Regions from separate parts of the Homo sapiens genome. Here regions 1 and 3 are each linked to region 2. Evidence: promoter capture Hi-C in 16 types of primary human blood cells and fetal thymus (Javierre and others, 2016). All regions are on one chromosome and are shown on one strand. The core of a region is centred on a gene start or on the middle of the fragment in contact, and the rest is flanking DNA. Distances in the headings are between cores, read along the strand shown. Region 1 holds the start of MAPK13 (mitogen-activated protein kinase 13). Region 2 holds the start of CLPSL2 (colipase like 2). Region 3 holds the start of TEAD3 (TEA domain transcription factor 3).

Region 1 (3,314 bases), core at 420-2,919, 350 kb before region 2:
ACAGGGCTGGTTCAGAGCCAAGGGCAAGATCACCCTGGCTGGAGGCCATAGGGGAGGGGTTTGCTGGAGAAGGATGGGCTTAAAATGTACATAACATTTTGAAATCATTCTTTGAAATGTCTGCCCTCCAATCTAGGTATCCTGCAGCAAAGCCTGGCTGCCAGGCCCTGAGCTGGGCCCCTGGTTTTCCCAGCTGCTTCTATCAGACAAGACAATCTGATGGTCATGTGCTCAGACCGGGAGCCTCGCTGCCGAGATTGAAACCCCAGCTCTGCTACTGACTAACCATCTAATCTGTGAGCCTTGCTGTGCTTTAGTTTCCTGTCTGTGACATGGGGGCAGTAGTACTCATATATCATGAGGACTAGACAAGTTAGTGTATGCAGAGCTCTTAGAACATAGGAAGTGCTCAATATGTGTATATTGCTATTGTTATCAGGGTCACGTGGACACAACGCTAACTAGGATTCTAGTCCCAGCTGGCCACAAGCTCTCAGACATGGAACCAATTACAAAGTTCCCCTGTGCCAATTTCCTCTGTAGGATAACACAGTCTGTACCTCACAAAGTGCATTCTGCCAAAAATACCCTTTGACCTCTTCCTGGAAAGTGGGCAGGGAAGGTCTCGGCACCCCCTCCTTTCAATAGTGAGGCGAGAGGCACCGTCAGGGGAGCAGGGAGGAGACTGTCCCGAGCTCTCCATACCGGGAGGCCCCGCCTGCGCCTGCCCCTGACTCCCCAGGGCAGCCCCCACCCCCTCCCCGGGGCAGCCACCACCTACGTTCTCATGCTGCATGTGCTTCAGCAGCAGCAGCTCCCGGTAGGCGCGCTTGGCGAAGATCTCGGACTGAAAGGGTCGGCTCAGCTTCTTGATGGCCACCTTCTCCCCTGACCGCTTGTCGATGGCCGAGCTGTCGGGCACAGGCCGGTCAGCAGGCGAGGCTCTCCTCCTGGGCCGTATCTCCCAGACCGCCCTGACCCCTCCCACTGGGCAGCTGGGCTGAGAGGGGACTAGGCCCACCACCTAGAATATGGGGGAGCCGCGGGACGCAGGGCAGGGAGTAGGAAGCCAGGCAGGAGCTGAGAGAGGGGCACAGCGCCAGGGGCAGCAACGTCTCATTGCGACGGGATCCACGGCAGGGCGGGAGTCTCACTCTGTCTGCAACTTGGCGAGCCACCTCCCCCTCTTGGGGCCTCGGTGTACTCGTCTGTAACAGTGAGGATCTGCCCGATGAACTCTGGGGTCTTGCAAGTGTACAGTCCTGGAGAACCAGGCCCAGTCCCAACTCAACCCCCAGAGACCTCACTCAGCCACTCGGTGAGAAAAGGGAGATGGCCGCTGGGTGGCCCCGGGGAGGGCGCTGGGCCTTGAGGTCCGCGGTCAAGGTGGCGCTGGCGAGGGGCCAGCCCAGGGCGGGCTGGGCGGAAAGGGGAGAGCCTGGCGCCCGCCCCCCGCCCCCCAGCGGCCCAGGGGTCTCACCACACGGAGCCATAGGCCCCGCTGCCGACGTGCGTCGGGGACACGTAGGTCTTGGGCAGCTCCCAGGCTGTCTTGTTGACGTCCTGCTTGTAGAAGCCCTTTTTCCGGATGAGGCTCATCCCGGGCACCCGATCTCGGCGGCCCCAGCGTGGCGGCTGCGTTCGCGGCCCAACGGGCTCCCAGCGCCCCGACCCCCGCTGCGCCCGCCCCGCGCCGCCCGCTCCTCCCCCGCGCGAGGGCGGGGGCCCCGGGCTGCTACGCTCCCACCTGCCGGCTCGCCCAGGTGCGCCGGGGCCGCCACGCCCGGGCCTGTCCAGCCCTGCGCTCCCGCGCTTCCGCCCGGCCCGACGGAGCCACTGCGGCAGGTGCGGCCCAGGCACGGGGTCGGGGCTGCCCAGCGGGACCCCGGTGCCTCCCAGCCGAGCGCGGGCCAGCGGCGGGGCTGGTGGGTCCAAGCAGGAGCGGGGAGGCAGTGCTTCCCAGTTCCCTCCAGCCCCGGTCTCCGTAGGAAGAGCTCCCTGTGACTGTGAACACACAGGAAAGCAGAACAAAACCCCACAACCTCTTCATTATGGAAAATGTCAAACATGCAGGAAAGAATTGAACAGAGTAAGCCAGCGCTTCTCACACTTCAGTGTGCTCAGGAATCCCCTGGGCATTTTATTTGATTAAAATACAGATCCTGACTCAGTAGGTTTGGGGTGGAGCCGAGATTCTGCATTTCTAGCCAGCTCCCAGGTCTGAGGCTTCTGAACCACATCTGATAGGAGGTTCTAATGAACCCCCGTGACCCCAATTCCCCAGCAACCACAACTCATAATCAATTTTATTTCATCCACATTCCTCTCCCACCATCGTTTTGAAGCAAAACCCAGGCGTCATATCATTTTATTCATAAATATTTTTGTATCTCTAAAACGTAAGGATTTTTAAAAGTACGTATCCACAATACTATATATATATATTTTTTGAGACTCTGTCGGAGTGCAGTTGCCATCTCGGCTCACTGCAACCTCCGCCTCCCGGGTTCAAGCAATTCTCTGCCTCCGCCTCCCGATTAGCTAGGATTGTAGGTGCCTGCCACCAAACCCGGCTAATTTTTGTATTTTTAATAGAGATGGGGTTTCACCATCTTGGCCAGGCTGGTCTTGAACTCCTGACCTCGTGAACCACCCGCCTCGGCCTCCGAAAGTGTTGGGATTACAGGCGTGAGCCACCGCGCCTGGCCCACAATACATTCTTAAACCTAAAATTAATAGCACTAATTCTATAATACCAAATATCCACGCAGGTTCAAATGTGCAGGATTTTTGTTTGTTTTTGACATGGAGTCTCACTCTATTGCCTAGGCTGGAGTGCAGTGGCGCCATCTCAGCTCACTGCAACCTCCGCCTCCCAGGTTCAAGCAATTCTCTTGCCTCAGCCTCCTGAGTAGCTGGGACTACAGGTGCACACCACCACTCCTAGCTAATTTTTGTATTTTTAGTAGAGACGGGGTTTCACCATGTTGGCCAGGCTGGTCTTCAACTCCTGACCTCAGGTGGTCCGCCCACCTCAGCCTCCCAAAGTGTTTGGATTACAGAAGTGAGCCACCGCACCTGGCCCAAATGTGCAGTTTTGAACACAGTTTCTGTGGACTTCCTAAGGCTCTATGAGGACAATGACTAATTGGGGCCCTTGCCACCTGTCTGGTGGCCTGTGCAGCCTGATGGAGATTCTTTGCTCAAACCACAAAGGCCTCTGAGGAGCAAGGTGGGCAGGTGGGGGGAGGAGATGGCTGCAAGGGCTCTGGATGCCCAGCCTGACTTGTCCAACCCCTCTCTTGCCCAGGCAT
Region 2 (3,424 bases), core at 186-2,685:
AGTGAGCCGAGATCATGCCATTGCACTCTAGCCTGGGTGACAGAGCGAGACTCCATCTCGAAACAAACAAACAAACAACAATAAGCATTTATTGAGCACCTACTATGTGCAGATACTAAGCTGGGGGTAGGTGCTTCATAGATGAATATGATGCGATCCCTGCCCTTGAAGAGTTCCAACCACTGGGAGAGGCAGAGAAAAGACATGGCCAGTTAGGGAGATACATGGTCTGCTGAGGGTCTGACCCCAGGGTACAGGAGCTCCAAGGAGGGAAGCCTTCTCAGAGGAGGTGGCTGGAGTTGTTTTGCACCATGAGTAGGAGTTTGCCAAGTGGAGAAGAAGAAGGGCACTCCAGACAGAGGTGAAAAAACAGGTGGGGCCAGGTGTTTTTTTTTTAACCTCCCTGCCCGCTTCTCTACTTGCCAGAAGTTGCCCCATACTAGGGCCTCACCTGGGGCAAGCAGATCATGGTTATTCTGGCCCTGGGGGCACAGAAGGCTCCACCGGAGTCCAAGTCCATGAGGCAGCAGCCACTGTAGCACTCAGAGTGGTGGAAGCACCTGTCTGTGATTTTCTGTGGGGACAGGCAGAATGTCTGCCAGGCTGGGAGCAATCCCTGAGTCGTGTGGGCGGGTAGGGGAGGGTTCCCACCATTGCCAAAGAGCCCAGGGATCCAGGAGAAGTCATGAGGTTGTCACCCCTTGGGGGGCTGGTTCCCCCCCCAGCCCCACCCCGGCCCCTCAGCAGGACCCAGGGCAGCAGAGAGGAGGAGAGGGGGATTAGCACTTTTCCCTCGGCCTCTCCTTTCCTGGACCCCCCTCACCTCCATGAGTCCCATGGGGTGTGTACTCTTAAGTCCCATTTTGCGGGGCAGGGTTGGGGGATGAGAATGAAGGGGCTGCGGGCTCGAAAAAGAGGGAGAGAAAGAGGAGAAAAGGGGAGAGCCCTCGTGCCTGGAAGAATCACTAGACAGTGAGAGGAGGTGGAAGAAGAGGAGGAGAAACCAGAGCATGCAGGGTGGGTTTGCCTGTGAGCAGTTTGGGGAGGGAAGCGAGCCCAGGACTGAGGCCATCGGAAGGGGCACGGGCGGGGGAGGTGGAGGGAGCGAGGGTGCTGGTCATAGGCCAATTTCTCTCCCCTCTGAGGCCACCAGGGGAAAGTGAAGCGGCTTTTGAAGTCCGTCTGAGGATGCCCCAGGCTACCCGCCTGGGTGTGGTTCCGGACCCACCTCTCCCTTTCAGGCTGCCCGGCGCCTTCGGGCTCCAGTGCCCCGGCGGCGGGGCCACCCTCTCCTGCGGTCGCGGCCGGCTGGGCGCGCTCCCCGGCTCACCTTTTTATATTGCGGAAGCGCGCTCCAGAGGGGCAGCACCGCCCCCGACAGGACCCCCGCCACGAGCGCCAGGGCTGCGGCCATGGGCCTGGGCGGCAGAGCAGCGGCGGGGTTCCGAGGGGCCGCGGGATAAAACCTCTTCCCCGGCCACGTGACCCGGCGCCCCAGGCCACCCCGGCGGAGGAGGGACGTGGAGGGCGAGGACGCCTGCGGAAGGGAAGGAGGGAGGAAAGGCGCTCAGGCTCGCACGGGCGGGATTCCAGACTGTAGGGGCCCTGGGAGCCTCCATACGTGTTACTTCCAAGTAGAAGCTTGAAACTGTAAGATAAAACTCTATTTTTATTGTAAGATAAAACTCTATTTTATTGTATTTATTTATTTTACAGACGGAGTCTCGCACTGTCGCCCAGTGCAGTGGCGTGATCTCGGCTCACTGCCATCTCCGCCTCCCAGGTTCAAGTGATCCTCCTGCCTCAGCCTCCCGAGTAGCTGGGACTACAGGTGTGCGCCACCACGCCGGGATAATTTTAAAAATTTCTGTAGAGACGGGGGTCTCCCCATGTCGCCCAGGCTGGTCTCTAACTCCTGGCCTCAAGTGATGGTCCTGCTTCAGCCTCCCAAAGTGCTGGGATTACAGGTGTGAGCCACCGCACCTGGCCTCAAAACTTTATTTTTATAAACGGCACAAAACATATATGCTGAAATAAAAAGAGCTTCCTTCCTGATGTTGATTCTCTGTCTGCCCTTGCAGCCCCAGATTCTCCCCTTACCTTCGGGATAATCCAGCCCCACCCTCTGGGCTGCTCACACCCGCTGCAGGCCCCATTCTCCTCTTCTGTAAGAACCAGGAGGTGGGACAAGATGGTCTCTAAGTCTTAAATCTCTTGCAGTCTTAATCATTCTATTAATTGTCTAAGGATTTGTCTGTGAATTGTGTGAAAGTCAAGATGTGGGGGCAAAATGGAGAAGTGGGAAGAGAAGAAAACTCAGAATAGGGAGGAGGGTTAAGGGAGAGCTAGAGCTGCACAGAGCAATCCTGGAACCGGGGGAGGCAGGCCTTCCTCAGGACTTCCCTATGGATGAAGCTTCCACCTCACCCCACCTGCCTGCTTCTGCTTTTTTTTAATTTCTATTTTTTTTTAATTTTGTATTGTTAATATTTGTTATAGAGACAGGTTGTCCTTATGTTGTCCAGGCTGGTCTTGAACTCATGGGCTCAAGAGATTCTCCTGCCTCGGCCTCCCAAAGTGGTGGGATTACAGACGTGAGCCACCACTCCCAGCCTGCTTCTGCTTTTGAAGTTTCGCTTAAGAAATGAACCGAGGAATCCTGTCTTGGTGGGGAATAACAGCCAAGAATAACAGCCCCCACCGCACTCAGAGGGCCTTGTATCCATTATTTCCGTGAGCCCTCCCTGTATTAACACTAGCTGTCACAGAGTAATTAACACTGGCTGTAACAACAGAACTCCTGGAATTTCGTGGCTTGGCACAATAATGCTTTATGTACAGTCTGATTTGGGGCAAGATACCCTTCTTCCATCCTGTAGCCATCTATAAGACTGGCCTCTGGCTGGGCATGGTGGCTCATGCATGTATTCACAGCACTTCGGGAGGCCAAGGAGAGAGGATCAGTTGTTTTGGGGGTTTTTTTGGTTTTTTTTTTTTTTTTTTTTTTTTTTTTTTTTGAGACAGAGTCTCACGCTATTGCCCAGGCTGAAGTGCAATGGCACAATCTCGGCTCACTGCAACCTCCGCAAAGTGCTGGGATTACCAGTGGGAGTCACCATGCCCGGCTGAGAGGATCTCGTGAGCTCAGGAGTTCAAGGCCAGCCCTGGGCAATATAGTGAGACCTCATTGCTACAAAAAAAATTTAAGAAATTAGCCAGACATGGTGGCACATGCATGTAGTCCTGGCTACTCGGGAGGCTGAAGCTGCAGTGAGTTATGATCGTGCCACTGCACTCCAGCATGGGCAACAGAGTGAGACCCTGTCTCAAAAAAAAAAAAAAAAACTAGCATCCAAGGTCTCCATGGAAGACCTGCCTTCTCCACTCACAAACCACCTGCTGGAACTAGTCACATGATCCCAAC
Region 3 (3,495 bases), core at 1-2,500, 280 kb after region 2:
GACCCCAGCAGCCCCTCAGCGCCCCCAGAGCCCGTCAGCGTGGGGGAAAGGATTCAGTGGAGGCTGGCAGGGTCCCTCCAGCAAAGCTCCCGCGGAAAACTGCTCCTGTGTCGGGGCTGACCTCTCACTGCCTCTCGGTGACCTCCGTCCTCTCCCCAGCCTGGCACAGGCCGAGGCAGGAGGAGCCCGGACGGCGGGTAGGACGGAGATGAAGAACATCTGGAGTTGGAGCCGCACATCTGGTCTCGGAGCTCGCCTGCGCCGCTGTGCCCCCCTCCTCCCCGCGCCCCAGTCACTTCCTGTCCGGGAGCAGTAGTCATTGTTGTTTTAACCTCCCCTCTCCCCGGGACCGCGCTAGGGCTCCGAGGAGCTGGGGCGGGCTAGGAGGAGGGGGTAGGTGATGGGGGACGAGGGCCAGGCACCCACATCCCCAATAAAGCCGCGTCCTTGGCCAAGCGGAGCGGTGGTTCCTCAGCGCGTGCGGAGAACGAGGCGGCAGGAGGCGTCCGAGGCGCGAGCTGGAAGTCTCAACCCCCGTCCCACTCCTGCCCAGGCCCCGGGCGCTCCCGCGTCCCCTCCCCGCGCCCGTCGCGGGTCCTACCGAAACTCGGCGGCCGCACAGCGTCGAGACGCCCCCCGTGGGGGCCCGGGGAGCCGGGGCGAAAGGGAGGGTCCCGGAGGTCGGGGAAGAGGGAGAAAGGGAGAAGAAATTCGAGAAACTAGCCACGCGGGGAGAACCAGACAAACCGGGTCCCGGCAGGGCGGGCGCAGCCGCCAGGGCGGAGCCGGGTCTGGGGCCCCGGGAGTGGGGGGCAGGCCCGCGAGCTGGAGGGTACGCTCCGCCTTGGCGGCTCGGGACTAGGGTGGAGGGGCCGGGAGCCCCGGGGCCCGTGCGCTCCGGCTCTGCCGGGCTCCTCGTGACGCGGCACCCACGGCCCCCGGCACCGACGGGAGCCCTGCCCGCGAGGCGAGGGCTCCGCCCTCGGCCCCGCCCCAGGCCGGAGCCCCAAATTCCGGCGGGTGCCCGGGAGCGGGGCGAGGCCCGGAGCGCAGGGGGAGGAAGGCAGCTCCGCACGGGCGGGCGAGGAGCGGGGCGCCCAGGCGCGCGCCAGCCGGGGTGGCCGGGTCGCGAGGCCGCGGGGTAGGCGGCCCGAGCGCGGCTGGACGGCCCCGCCCCTCCCGGCCAGCACCGCCCCCTGCGCGCCCCGCCCCCTCCTTCCCGCAGCCCCCACCCCCGCCCCGGCTCCTCAACACAAACTTTCCGTCCCGCTCGCTCCCTCCTCCGCGCTCGGCGCCTCCCGCTCCAGCCCGGCTCATTCCGCACATTCCGGCCAGCCCCCTCCCCACGACCCCCCTTCCCCGGCCCCCCTTGCGGCTCCCTCGGGCCCGGCGGAGCGGCCCGGCCGGAGCGCCCCCGCGAGCTCGGACCAGGTAAGCCGGGCGGACGCCGGGAGGAGGCCCCGCTCGGGAGAGGTGGTTTGGTTGGTCGGCTGGGCTGGCTGGGGGGGCGACACTCGAGGGGGACTGGGTCCCCGAGCTATTGTCCAGCCGGAGCTGGAGCCCCGGATCGGGGTGCCGGGAAGTTTAGAGGGAAGGGGGAAAATCTCTCCGGGAAGCCCCGCCCCCCGCCCTCCCCACCCCCCCGCGACGGGGACGAGTTGGTCCGGGAAGGTGGGGAAGCCGGGGAGACCGTGTCCCCTGTGCCGTCGCCTGTCCCGCCGTCCGTGCTTGGGGGGTCGGGGCGGGGATCCGGGGGCCGCACAGTGTGGAGGGCCTGCCTGCCACCCTGGAGCTCATATCCGGGGCGCCCAGTCCCGGGCCCCGCCGCCCTTTGGACTCCCGGCCCGCGCGCTCCCGGAGCCCGCCCGGCCTCAGCTCCACGCAGGCCTCGGGCCCGGCCTCCCAGCGCCCAGGCCGGTTTCTGCGCGCGGTGCCGCGGCTGCGCTGGGTTGTGGAGGGTGTCTGGGACCAAAGCCGCGCGCCCCGGCCGTGTGTCCCCTGAGAGGCAGGGAGGGGCTCACGTTCCCTTCAGTTCTGCCGCCTGCGTCGGGGTGCTGATTCAGAGTTCCAGCCCTGAGCGCTGTGAGCTTGGCTCGGAGGGGTCTGGATTTGGGGCCTTTTCTTCCCCACACTTGCTCAGGGCCCTTGTTTAGACTTGACAAGGTTTGAGGGTGGCTGGTCTCCCGCTTCCTACCCCGGTCCCCACCATTGTCTGTCATGCCCTTTATTCCTGCTAGGGGAGGGAGGGCTGGGAGCGCTGGTCTGGATCTGTTTTCCAGCCCAGCTGGGCCCTGGGGCAGTGTCATTGAGACCCCGCTCTGTCAACTTTCCTGGTGAGGGGCCCTGATCCAGGGCTGAGAGATTCTTTCAGTGCGAGGGGGAAGGAGGCCTTGGGGCGGACTTCTCAGGGGCTGTCTTCTTCTGTGTCTTCCCTCTTTCCAGGTAGGGGCAGAACCAGGTCAGGCCTGGACTTGTTGTCCGGAAGAACAGGGCATAGGGGTAGGGGCTGGACACAGCTCAGAGGGGCTGGTGCCCATAGCGGCTCTGCGTATCCAGTCTCTTGTGGCCTGGTTCTCTGTACACATGTTCCACCCCAGTGCTGGGGCCACCTGGGGCAAGGAGGGGAGGCTTTCCTCAAAAGTTGGAGATTTGGGGGAATTATGTCCTCTCCCTTCTAGACTCCTGTAGCCCCCCTCCCACCAAGACCCCTCTCGTAGGGGCACTCCCTAAAGGATGTGGTTCTGTGGTCTTCTGGGTCCCTGCTCACCCAGTGGGCAGAGTGCACAGATCTTCCAGGACAAGGCTGTCCAGTAAGGGTAACTTCAGGGGCCCTGGATGCCCCCTCCTCAGGGAGAGGGTAGGAGCCAGTATGAGTCCCAAGCTCTTGGGCCTTCCCCTACCCCCCCAGGGAGGGAACGTCATTAATGCTAATGAGCGCATCTGGGCTGGGGAATGGCTTGTTAGAGTGGTCAGTGGTTGCCAGGACAGAGCAGCACATTAAGTGTACAGAAGCATCACATGGGTCCTGAGCCCTGCTCCCATCCTCACCCAAAGGTTTGTAGACCCTGGCACTTTCTGCCAACTGAAGGAATGTTAAAACCGGGAGGATTTGATATTCTCAACAATATCAAAGGAGAAGATATCTCAACAGAGGTGGTCAAGAAATAGGGATCTGGTCCCCTCCGGACCTTTAACCAGTTGCGCCATCTTGGCAGGCCCCTTTGGGCCTCAGTTTCCCTGCTTGGAATGAATGACTTCTCAAGTCCCTTTTCTCTGAGCTCCTCCCAGAGTCTGTCTCCCAGTTTGCCTTCCTTCTCCCATGATGGAACCTGAACTTGGTGGGGTCTGGAGAGGCGGGTGGGTGATCCAGTGGCCCAAAGAAGAAGGCAAGGACAAACCAAGGGGTGACTGAGGAGTAGCTCAGCCAGATGAACAGGGCTGAAAAGGTGGCGGGGGGCAGGTGTCAAGGGACAGGGGGGCTTGGTGGATTGGGGG

Evidence for each region. The method cuts DNA at HindIII sites, captures the fragments that hold promoters and counts their contacts. A CHiCAGO score of 5 or more calls a contact.
Region 1: the fragment with the promoter of MAPK13 here is called in contact with the fragment with the promoter of CLPSL2 in region 2 in 2 of 17 cell types (activated CD4 T cells and total B cells); the score reaches 5.5 in activated CD4 T cells.
Region 3: a contact is called between the fragment with the promoter of TEAD3 here and the fragment with the promoter of CLPSL2 in region 2, in 12 of 17 cell types (non-activated CD4 T cells, endothelial precursors, total CD8 T cells and 9 more). The highest score is 10.9, in non-activated CD4 T cells.

Annotation. Positions count from the first base shown.
Region 1 is chr6:36,128,868-36,132,181 of GRCh38, reverse strand. MAPK13 (mitogen-activated protein kinase 13) reads right to left here and starts at 1,669. Exons shown (of 12, transcript NM_002754.5): 1 at 1,481-1,669; 2 at 782-911. The coding sequence starts at 1,599. RefSeq lists enhancers at 1-193, 904-1,023, 915-1,518 and silencers at 664-773, 1,414-1,483, 1,524-1,773. The HindIII fragment of the contact is 20,068 bases long and covers 1-3,314 here.
Region 2 is chr6:35,774,609-35,778,032 of GRCh38, reverse strand. It overlaps CLPSL2 (colipase like 2), which reads right to left and starts at 1,435. Exons shown (of 3, transcript NM_207409.4): 1 at 1,331-1,435; 2 at 452-574. The coding sequence starts at 1,414. RefSeq lists a silencer at 1,325-1,454. The HindIII fragment of the contact is 8,503 bases long and covers 1-1,643 here.
Region 3 is chr6:35,494,834-35,498,328 of GRCh38, reverse strand. TEAD3 (TEA domain transcription factor 3) reads left to right here and starts at 1,250. Exons shown (of 13, transcript NM_003214.4): 1 at 1,250-1,431. It overlaps TULP1 (TUB like protein 1), which reads left to right. Exons shown (of 15, transcript NM_003322.6): 15 at 1-455. The coding sequence ends at 2. It overlaps LOC124901309 (a long non-coding RNA gene), which reads right to left and starts at 196. Exons shown (of 2, transcript XR_007059561.1): 1 at 122-196. RefSeq lists enhancers at 1-343, 344-1,274, 2,221-3,006 and silencers at 743-1,072, 1,083-1,212, 1,393-1,442. The HindIII fragment of the contact is 26,537 bases long and covers 1-3,495 here.